Linked DNA regions of Homo sapiens: regions 2 and 3 are each linked to region 1. Evidence: promoter capture Hi-C in 16 types of primary human blood cells and fetal thymus (Javierre and others, 2016). All regions are on one chromosome and are shown on one strand. Each heading gives the region's core, a stretch centred on a gene start or on the middle of the fragment in contact. The rest is flanking DNA. Distances are from core to core; before and after follow the strand shown. Region 1 holds the start of RALGPS2 (Ral GEF with PH domain and SH3 binding motif 2). Region 2 overlaps FAM163A (family with sequence similarity 163 member A). Region 3 holds the start of QSOX1 (quiescin sulfhydryl oxidase 1).

Region 1 (2,700 bases), core at 11-2,510:
TTTCTTCTTTTGATTGCTCTACTTCTTCTAGTGATTTCGTCATGATTCAAGACTTTCTTTGAAAGTAAAATGGAATAAAAATGAAACACTACGAACTTTGTTGCCTATCCTCGCTGTTTTTCTTTTTGACTTAACTTTGCGTTGGGGTGCTTTAAAGTAACCCTATTTGAGAGAAGGAGGTTGAAGGGCATTCTAGCGTCCCCAACTAGAGTAAAAGGGCTATGACAGAAGGCAATCAAAGGAGGAAATAATTAGCAATCTTCAACGTTCAAGATTAATCAGTTCTGTTTAGCGGTTATTAAAGGGAAGAAAGAAACCAAATGGGAATAGTGAATTATTGGTCCTTTCATGTTTTACACTTAATGCTGGTACATAGTATTCTTTCCACATTCTACTGCACATTGCCTAGAGAAAGAACTGCAGATCATCAAATAATTATCCATTTCCAAATGGTCTAATGACAGCAGATACAAAGGCGGCTCACTTAAAACCTTCCGTTAACAGTCACACTGCATCAAATGGTGCTAGCTTTAAGTAGGCCACCCATTTAGTAGACTCTGAAACAACACCTTTCCGCCCAATTTCTGTCATTTGCTCCTTAAGTCAAGGGTAGTACCCTGCGTAACATCTTACAAAGGCCTACTTCTAACACTTCCCGAATCTTAATGTGTGAGGATGTTGATCACCATAATTTATGACCTTATCTAAGACAGTGGGGTGACTCTCCACATTGGGAGCCCCCTCATTTGTCCTCAGTGACTTCTAAAAACACCGCTGGCGTGGGCTGGATATTTGATCTTGGGGCCAAGTGCTTCCAGACTTTGTTCTCTGGCCTTAAAGGTGAAGAGCCCGGCGCTGAAGGCCACAGACATCACGGCGGATTTCACAGAGGGCCGCGTTCCGGGAGCGGGTGGCCAGGCGGTGGCGGACGCCCCACCTGTCCATCCTCCTACCCCTTCCCCCCCCCGTTGTTTGGCCGGTGGGAGCCCCTCCTTTCAGCAGGCGCCGGGCGGTGGGGTTGCGGATGGCTGCGCGCGCTGCGGGCACCGATCACCGGCGGCAGTTGGGCTCCGCGGGGCCGAAAAGCTGCGGGCGGGAAGCGCGAGGTTAAGACCCTGACGGCTGCAGCTCTCAGAGCCCCCGCGAGCGCGCTCCGTTGGTGCGCGCGCGCGCGCGGCTCCGCCCCGCCCGCTTGGCGCGCGCCCCCGCCAGGTCCGCTCTCGTCCCCCACCCCTGGCGCGGACGGGGTGGTTCCAGCTCACTCTCCTCCCCCGAGCGGCAGCGGCGGCGGCGGCGGCGGCTGCTGCGGGCGCTGAATGAGAGACGGTGACTGTTCGGGTCGACGAGTGCTACTCTAGGCGGCGGCGGCCGTGGCGGTGAAGCGTGAGGCCGGCATCGTCTTTCCGTCCTCTGAGGCGACGGCCGCGGCTGCACAGGTCGGTGGGCTCAGGCCGCGGGGCGGTGCGGGGGAGGGAGGGAGGGAGGGTGGGTACGCGGCGCCCCCCGGGCGGCGCGGGGAATGGCGGCGGCGGCGCTGCGGAGTGTGGCTCTCCCGGCCGCGGGCCCCGGGGCTGCTCGCCCTGCGCGCAGGGAGGGGGCTGCGGAGCTGGGGCTGAGGCTGAGGGAGAAGGGCGCTGGGCGGCGCGCCTCCCTCGGCCGCGGGTTCTCAGAGTCGGAGCGGCCGTGGGGTCCCCGCTCGGGGGCGCCGTCCTGAAGCCGGGGGCGCTGCGACCCCTTGAACCCGCCTCGCTCTCCCTCTTGGGTGGCGGAAGCCCCCAGCCTCCGCCCGCTCTGTTCTGGCGCCCAGCGGCGCCTCAGTCTTCCTTCAGGTGAGCCCGATCCCGGACCTCGGAGCCAGGACCAGCAGAAGCCGGGCCACACCCCCTCCCCTGGCCCTGGCGGCTGCGCCCAGAAGCCTGGCCGCAGAGTTGGCCGCCCGCGAACCCGCGGAGTCGCGGTCAGGGTGACCTGTTGCAGAGCGGCCCGCAGCCCGAGCGGCCCCCGCCAGCCCCGGCCCCGGAGGGGCTGCGTCCTGTGCTGGCCTCGGGCCGGGCGCGCGGGCCGGGTGTGGGGCAGGGGCCGCAGCCCCAGGTCGGCTTGCTCTACGGCCTGGAACCGGGCTCTAGAAAAAAAAGGAGATTCCGAACGTATCTCATCAAACACTTGCAAAGCCGGGAGATCTGTCTGCAAATATCCGGAATTCCATTGCAGTATCGGATTAGGTAGGCTCATAAACACCGTGCTTTTGAGGTGATTTGGAAGAAACGCGAGCCACGAGCGAGGAACTAGTTTCTGGAAAATAGCCGTAAACCTGTGCGGAGCGAATTATTAACCCCCCGCCCCAGCTCCCCCCTCGAAGCTCTTTTCCTGTAGCTGTGTGTTGTGTAGACGCAAGCCAGTTTCAGTGTACGTGGGCGTGTTTGGGAAGAAGCTGCGAGCTGATAGGAGGTACCTAGTACAAATGTTAATTTGTTTGAGTTGGGAGGGGTAAGGGAGGAGGAAGAAAGGGCACTGATGTTAGCTGTGGAGGAGGGGCAATTGAAATACTAAATTTCTGTTAAAAAAAAAAAACCCCAAAAGAAATATCTAATGCCTACTGTGTATTTAAGACCATAAAGTGGAATCACACAAGCAGCAGTTAATTGAGCTTTATCGTTTATGCTCCCTGGATTTTTTTTCCCCAACACTTTAGTTGCTATA
Region 2 (2,841 bases), core at 262-2,761, 1.1 Mb after region 1:
CCACATACTACAAAGAGGGGGGACCCCCATCCCTCAAATTGGCAGCACCCCAGAGTTACCCGGTGACCTGGCCAGGCTCTGGGCGTGAGGCCTTCACCAATCCAAGGGCTATTAGTACAGACGTGTAAATCCTTCCACCCCGACCCGCACACACACCCACACTGCTGCCCTGGCGGGGGCCATGGGGGTGATGAATGACCCTCCAACAGCCCCACATGGGTTGTTTCTGTTTCTTTGGCTTTTCTCGCTCCGCAGTGGAGGGTTTACTAGGATTTAAGCTTTTGAGTGCATTGAGAACCAAGACAGGGCCTGGCTCCAACTCTGTGGGCCAGAGGTGGGGGACTGCTAGGTCGAGTCTGCAGCTTCGCCAGTTTCTTGGTTGGGACACTCCTCTGGCAGCCCCAGCACCACCACAACCCCTTGCAGTGTGCCCCAGTCCCCTGGATTCGCTGGACTGCAAAAAGGAGCACCAGGGAAAGCTCAGCAAAGGCTCAGGAGGCCTCCCGGGTCCTCGGGAGATGAAGCATCCGTGCCTAGGAAAAGGGGACAGAGGGCAAGGAGAGAAGTGAGAGCTACAATTCCAGCATTGGAGAAGCGAGGGGCGGGGCGTCAACGGCACTGCTTCAGGACGCGCTTGCTGAAACGACTCCAACAGCTAGTTCACAGCCCAGCTTTGTACGTTGGTTACCATAGCTACTGCTGTCACTGTAGCTGCTCCCGTAGGGTCGTTGATTCCTGAACGTATCACATCTCACCTGCCCCCTTCCTCGTGGGACGTGTCAAGTTGACTTTAAAGCCTAAGGTGGCTTGTGGGGACTGCACCAGAAAGTGTCTAACCTTGTGTTCCCCGAAATCCTTTCTCTGACTTAGGAACCAGCGCCCCCTGCTGGAGAAGTTTTTTCATTTTGTTAGCCGACTTCTGGTAGCTTAGCAAAGAGACCAGCTGACTGTCTCTCGGCCCAGCCCACCACGCCGAGTAGCTTGTGTGGATGCAGTCCTGTGAGGGTGTGCATAACCGTTCCCAGGTGTACGCACGCGCGCGCGCGCGCACAGACACACACACACACACACACACACACACACACACACAGTAACCACGGGTAGGCACCAGGGGCTTTGTACATTCAGGAGCTGCAGAGAGGAAAGGTCTCCCATGTACCAGAGAAGGAAAAGTCTGATCCCGAAACAGCTTGAACGAAAGGTGGTTAACACGTGACCAATCCCCATGGCAGACAGCGGGCTGGTGAACAGGAAGAGCACAGAATCTCTGTGGGGCGATGCTGCAGCGGCTGAAACCACGTCAAGTCCCCCAGAGCCCGGCATTCTATGTAAGCATCCACCTGTGACGCCGTGGAGCAGGATCTTCATTCATCTCACCAGAGCAACAGCCCAGTCCTGAGGATGGGAGGGACGTGACTTAGCCTTGGGATTCCACGCTCGCCGCCCTCCCTTGGCCGCCCTACTCCCCAGTTTCCTGGCGATGAGCCATTTATTGTGTCTCACACCAGCCTCATTTCCAACTCCGACTTCCTACTTAGAATGTGGCAGTGGCTTTGTGAGTGAGAATCCTGATGAGTTTTCCAGTGGCCTCTGCAGAAGCTGGCCCCCTTCTAAGGGCATAGCTAACCCCCTTCCCACTCCTGAGTCACTGAATTCGAGGAGGGTGGGGCAGGGAAAGGGCTGGCCCCCCTGCTGAAATCTTGATTCTGCATTTGAGGAAGGTCAGGGTGCCGCTGGGGGAGCAGGGAGCGGGGAGGGAGGAAGAGGGGAATGCACATCTTTTGCGCCACTATTAAGGCACCTGTCACCTTACATCTCAATCTGGAATCAAAGTGCCCTGGGTTGAGAAGCAGACCTGGGCTCTGGTCACACTTTGGTCACTCATTAGCTCTAGGACCAGTCACTAATCTCTGAGACTCCATTTTCTCCAGGGAAACGAGGCTTGCCCAGATAGACTAACAACCCTTTAGTGCTCCAAGAAGTGAGAATTTCCGAAAAAGATCTGCCGGCCCAGAGCACTCCCTCTTGCCCTAATCCTGGCAGGGTCTGGATGTATTTACCCAACTCTGATCTTGCGTGCAGGGATGCTTGCTGATGGATGAAAGACCACAATAAAACAAGATTAGCAGCAAAACAATTTTAATTGTCAGTGAAAAGCAAACATGTTTGTCAGACTCTCCTGTGGAGTCATTTCAAATGGTAACTCTTCTCTTGTACCAGGAAGCAGCTGTAGGTGGGGTAATGGGATCTGTCTCCTGGTGCAGAGGGGCAGCTTATGGCGGCAGCAGCTTCAACAAGCCCGTCCCACGGCCAGCCCTAACTGGGCCAAGTGCAAGCTCCTGATGAGCTGCTGGGCCTGGCAGCGTTCCCCACTTCCTAGTGCCTTGCTCCCCTGGAATTCCACAGCCAATCAACCACAGCAGCCGTGTCCTCCTTGCCAGAAATAACATCATTCGTACGTCCTGCCTTTGTAAAAATCAAGACCCAGTTAACCATCACCCACTTCTTGCCCCTGATTGATGGGGTCCCTGAGTACAAGCGTCCTGTGCAATCCCCTCCCTCCTACCGCTTTCCTAGCTAAGCCCTGCTAGCCCCACAAATCAGAATCTGGGTTTGGGGTGCTGGAGAGATGGTGGGCCCCAGCTCTTCCCCACATAGCCCACGCTGCTCAGGGCACGGTCTCCAACCAGGCTCGAGATTGCCTGCCTGCCCGCTGCAGCCGCAGGGCCCCACCCTGTGGAAAAGGAAGCTTCCCCCACTCAACTGCACTGTCCTTTTCTGCTGTCTAGTCTGTGCTAAGGGACACTACTTGTACACTTTTCAAACGGTGCCCTAAATTGG
Region 3 (2,700 bases), core at 38-2,537, 1.4 Mb after region 1:
ACATGATATGTGGGCCTCCATTTGTACTACTGACTCAGTTCTTGCAAATATTAAGGGTAGACCTGTCCCTGATCTTCGTGTGTAAAATAGCACCTCCTCTGCCACTCTATTCTTACCCCAGTCTACATTTCTTCATAACATCGGTCACCATCTGATCTACATTTACTTATGTATCATCTCTTTACCCCCACTGGAATGTAAGTTCCACGTCCCTAGAGTCTATATTTTGTTTACTGCCTTATCCTTATACCTAAACAAGTGCCTGGCATGACACCACTCAGTAAAACTTGAATAAATGAATAACAAATCTAGGCTCAAAGCTCTTACAGGTGAAAGGGGCTAACCTGGCAGTCACAAAGGAAAAATATCACTGTGACAACCGTCTGAGGAGCACCTTCTCCCCTTAAAATAACTCACTCAAAACAGTGGAGCTGCAAAGGTGACCAGAGAAAATCCATTAACACCTTAGTGCCCATGACACCAGGTGAGTTGATCGGGCTACTTGCGAGAGGGACATGTGAGTGAGCGTGGAGAGCTCTGAGTAGGCTGAAGAGCTGGATGTGGGGGATCTGGGCTGCTGGGAACCCCGAATGTTGGAATCGCCCTGACAACCTTATGAGGGTGGTCAGATATGGGTCCTGAGGAAACTGATTCCACGGCAACTGCCCGCCAACCCAGCACACCCCACAGTGAAGAGGGGCTTCTGATCCATGAGTAGGGCCCCTCAAATGATGTTCCCCTTTAGATGGTCATGGTCATCAGCAGGGGTGGGTGCATCGATCCTGTGGGGTCTTGGTGGTCGCAGACCAAGCGTCCCTCTTCTCACATCTAATTCACAACGTCTCATCGCTCCGCGGGAGCCCAGGAACTGCCCTACAACAGCCGAAATCCGGGTCGTCTATTCCAACGGACTCCTCTTCCGTTGGATACGGGGGCCGTGAGAGGCCAAACAACCTCCGCGAGGCTACCCCCGCAGCGACCGCTCGGCGGGCGCTCCATTCCTTTACCGGACTGTACACCTCGCCTCCTGGGGCCTGAGGCGGGAACCCGGGTCGCGCTGCTCCGAGGCCTCGGCGGACCGCGAAAGGATGGCTCACCACCCGGCCAGGGCCAGCCCCTGCAACAAGCTCAGCCCCGCCCGCTCCCGCGCCCAGGAGCGGCCGGCGGGGCGGGGTGGCTGGGCCGGCCTCGGGGGCGGGGGCTCGGGGGCGGGGGCTCAGGGGCGGGGCCACGTGGCTCCTCCTTGCGGGCGGAGGCAGGCGGTGCCGCGGCGCCGGGACCCGACTCATCCGGTGCTTGCGTGTGGTGGTGAGCGCAGCGCCGAGGATGAGGAGGTGCAACAGCGGCTCCGGGCCGCCGCCGTCGCTGCTGCTGCTGCTGCTGTGGCTGCTCGCGGTTCCCGGCGCTAACGCGGCCCCGCGGTCGGCGCTCTATTCGCCTTCCGACCCGCTGACGCTGCTGCAGGCGGACACGGTGCGCGGCGCGGTGCTGGGCTCCCGCAGCGCCTGGGCCGTGGAGTTCTTCGCCTCCTGGTGCGGCCACTGCATCGCCTTCGCCCCGACGTGGAAGGCGCTGGCCGAAGACGTCAAAGGTGAGAAGCGGGGGCGGCCCGCTCCCCCGTGCCCCGCCGCCCGGACCCCTCCACCTGCCCGGTGGGCAGCCTCCTACTCCGGGAGCGCGTCCCTCTTCCAGTCACCTCCGCCCACCTCTTCCTCTCCGCGCATCCCACGCCCACCACCTTCATGTTTCTCAGCTCCATTTTTGCCTCCCGCTCCCTTGCCTTTTCCTCTTGGCCCTCATCCCGAGCTTCTTTCCCTCTCCGCGGCCTGGGCCCCCAGACCTGCCCTGCTCGCCCGGTTCGTCCCCCGCCAGGTTACTGCCTCCTTCCCTGCGAGAGGTCTCCTTTGTTCCTTCCTCCGCATGGTCCGCTGACACCTTACCGTTTCCTGGGCCAGCCTTGTGGCAGTCCTCTTCCTCTCGTCCAGGGACCCATGTCATCTTCCTGCCAGGTTCCCTAGCTGCTGTGGGTCAGTGCTGGGGAGAAAAGGGAACGGACATCCATTTTGCCTCCCTGCCACCTTTCTCCACTCCCTCGACTGGTTGACCAGGTGGTACATAGACTTCCTTTCTCATTTTTGTCTTTGATGTGGGTATGTCCACCTGGCAGTTTTCCTATCTCTGTTCCGGGCCTCTCCTGACCTGCCGCCTCCAGCTCCTTAGCTTCTGGGCCACATCCTTCTCTCTCTTCCCCCGCTCAGACCCTTATATTTTAAACCCATGCACCCAGAGGCCTTTGGTGCGTGTTTGGCTCTTGCTCCATGTTCCCAATCCCTGGTTGGGGCACCAAAACTATATTTCCTGAATTCCAAGACACCATCAACTGTGAGACACACTGTTCATTTTATGACAGCCCAAGGGGTAGAAGGATAGGAAAAAACCACTACATGTATAAAGATTTGAAGGTGAACTCTATTACAGAAATGCTAAAATTTTGAAACACTTAAGACTTAGAGTCGAGGAAATATGGTAATAATAGTAATTAATATTTACGGAGCACCTATCATTTCAGGCACCTTACTAAGTACTCGGCATACATTGTCTCATAGTTTCCTTTCCACAATTTAAAGATTCCTGTGGTGTCACACATCCACCTAATCCAGGTAGTGGGTATTTGGCGGGCAGGAGTGGTATAGTGATAGT

Evidence for each region. Contacts are between HindIII fragments. The CHiCAGO score rates a contact against its expected background, and 5 or more counts as called.
Region 2: a contact is called between a fragment that was not itself captured here and the fragment with the promoter of RALGPS2 in region 1, in 1 of 17 cell types (non-activated CD4 T cells). The highest score is 5.2, in non-activated CD4 T cells.
Region 3: the fragment with the promoter of QSOX1 here is called in contact with the fragment with the promoter of RALGPS2 in region 1 in 1 of 17 cell types (non-activated CD4 T cells); the score reaches 5.6 in non-activated CD4 T cells.

The regions. Positions count from the first base shown.
Region 1 is chr1:178,723,984-178,726,683 of GRCh38, forward strand. It overlaps RALGPS2 (Ral GEF with PH domain and SH3 binding motif 2), which reads left to right and starts at 1,261. Exons shown (of 20, transcript NM_152663.5): 1 at 1,261-1,436. It overlaps RALGPS2-AS1 (RALGPS2 antisense RNA 1), which reads right to left and starts at 2,301. Exons shown (of 1, transcript NR_187252.1): 1 at 1-2,301. RefSeq lists silencers at 1,035-1,189, 1,091-1,260, 1,521-1,640, 1,841-2,070 and an enhancer at 1,611-2,200. The HindIII fragment of the contact is 4,509 bases long and covers 1-2,700 here.
Region 2 is chr1:179,814,062-179,816,902 of GRCh38, forward strand. It overlaps FAM163A (family with sequence similarity 163 member A), which reads left to right. Exons shown (of 5, transcript NM_173509.3): 5 at 1-2,137. The coding sequence ends at 128. It overlaps LOC105371634 (a long non-coding RNA gene), which reads right to left. Exons shown (of 5, transcript XR_007066756.1): 4 at 838-2,466; 5 at 234-533. Among named protein-coding and RNA genes, the nearest start is that of MIR12116, 12 kb to the left of the region's middle. The HindIII fragment of the contact is 2,471 bases long and covers 277-2,747 here.
Region 3 is chr1:180,153,582-180,156,281 of GRCh38, forward strand. QSOX1 (quiescin sulfhydryl oxidase 1) reads left to right here and starts at 1,288. Exons shown (of 12, transcript NM_002826.5): 1 at 1,288-1,591. The coding sequence starts at 1,327. It overlaps LOC105371636 (a long non-coding RNA gene), which reads right to left and starts at 1,257. Exons shown (of 2, transcript XR_001738314.3): 1 at 418-1,257. RefSeq lists a silencer at 963-1,282 and an enhancer at 1,463-1,562. The HindIII fragment of the contact is 9,170 bases long and covers 1-2,700 here.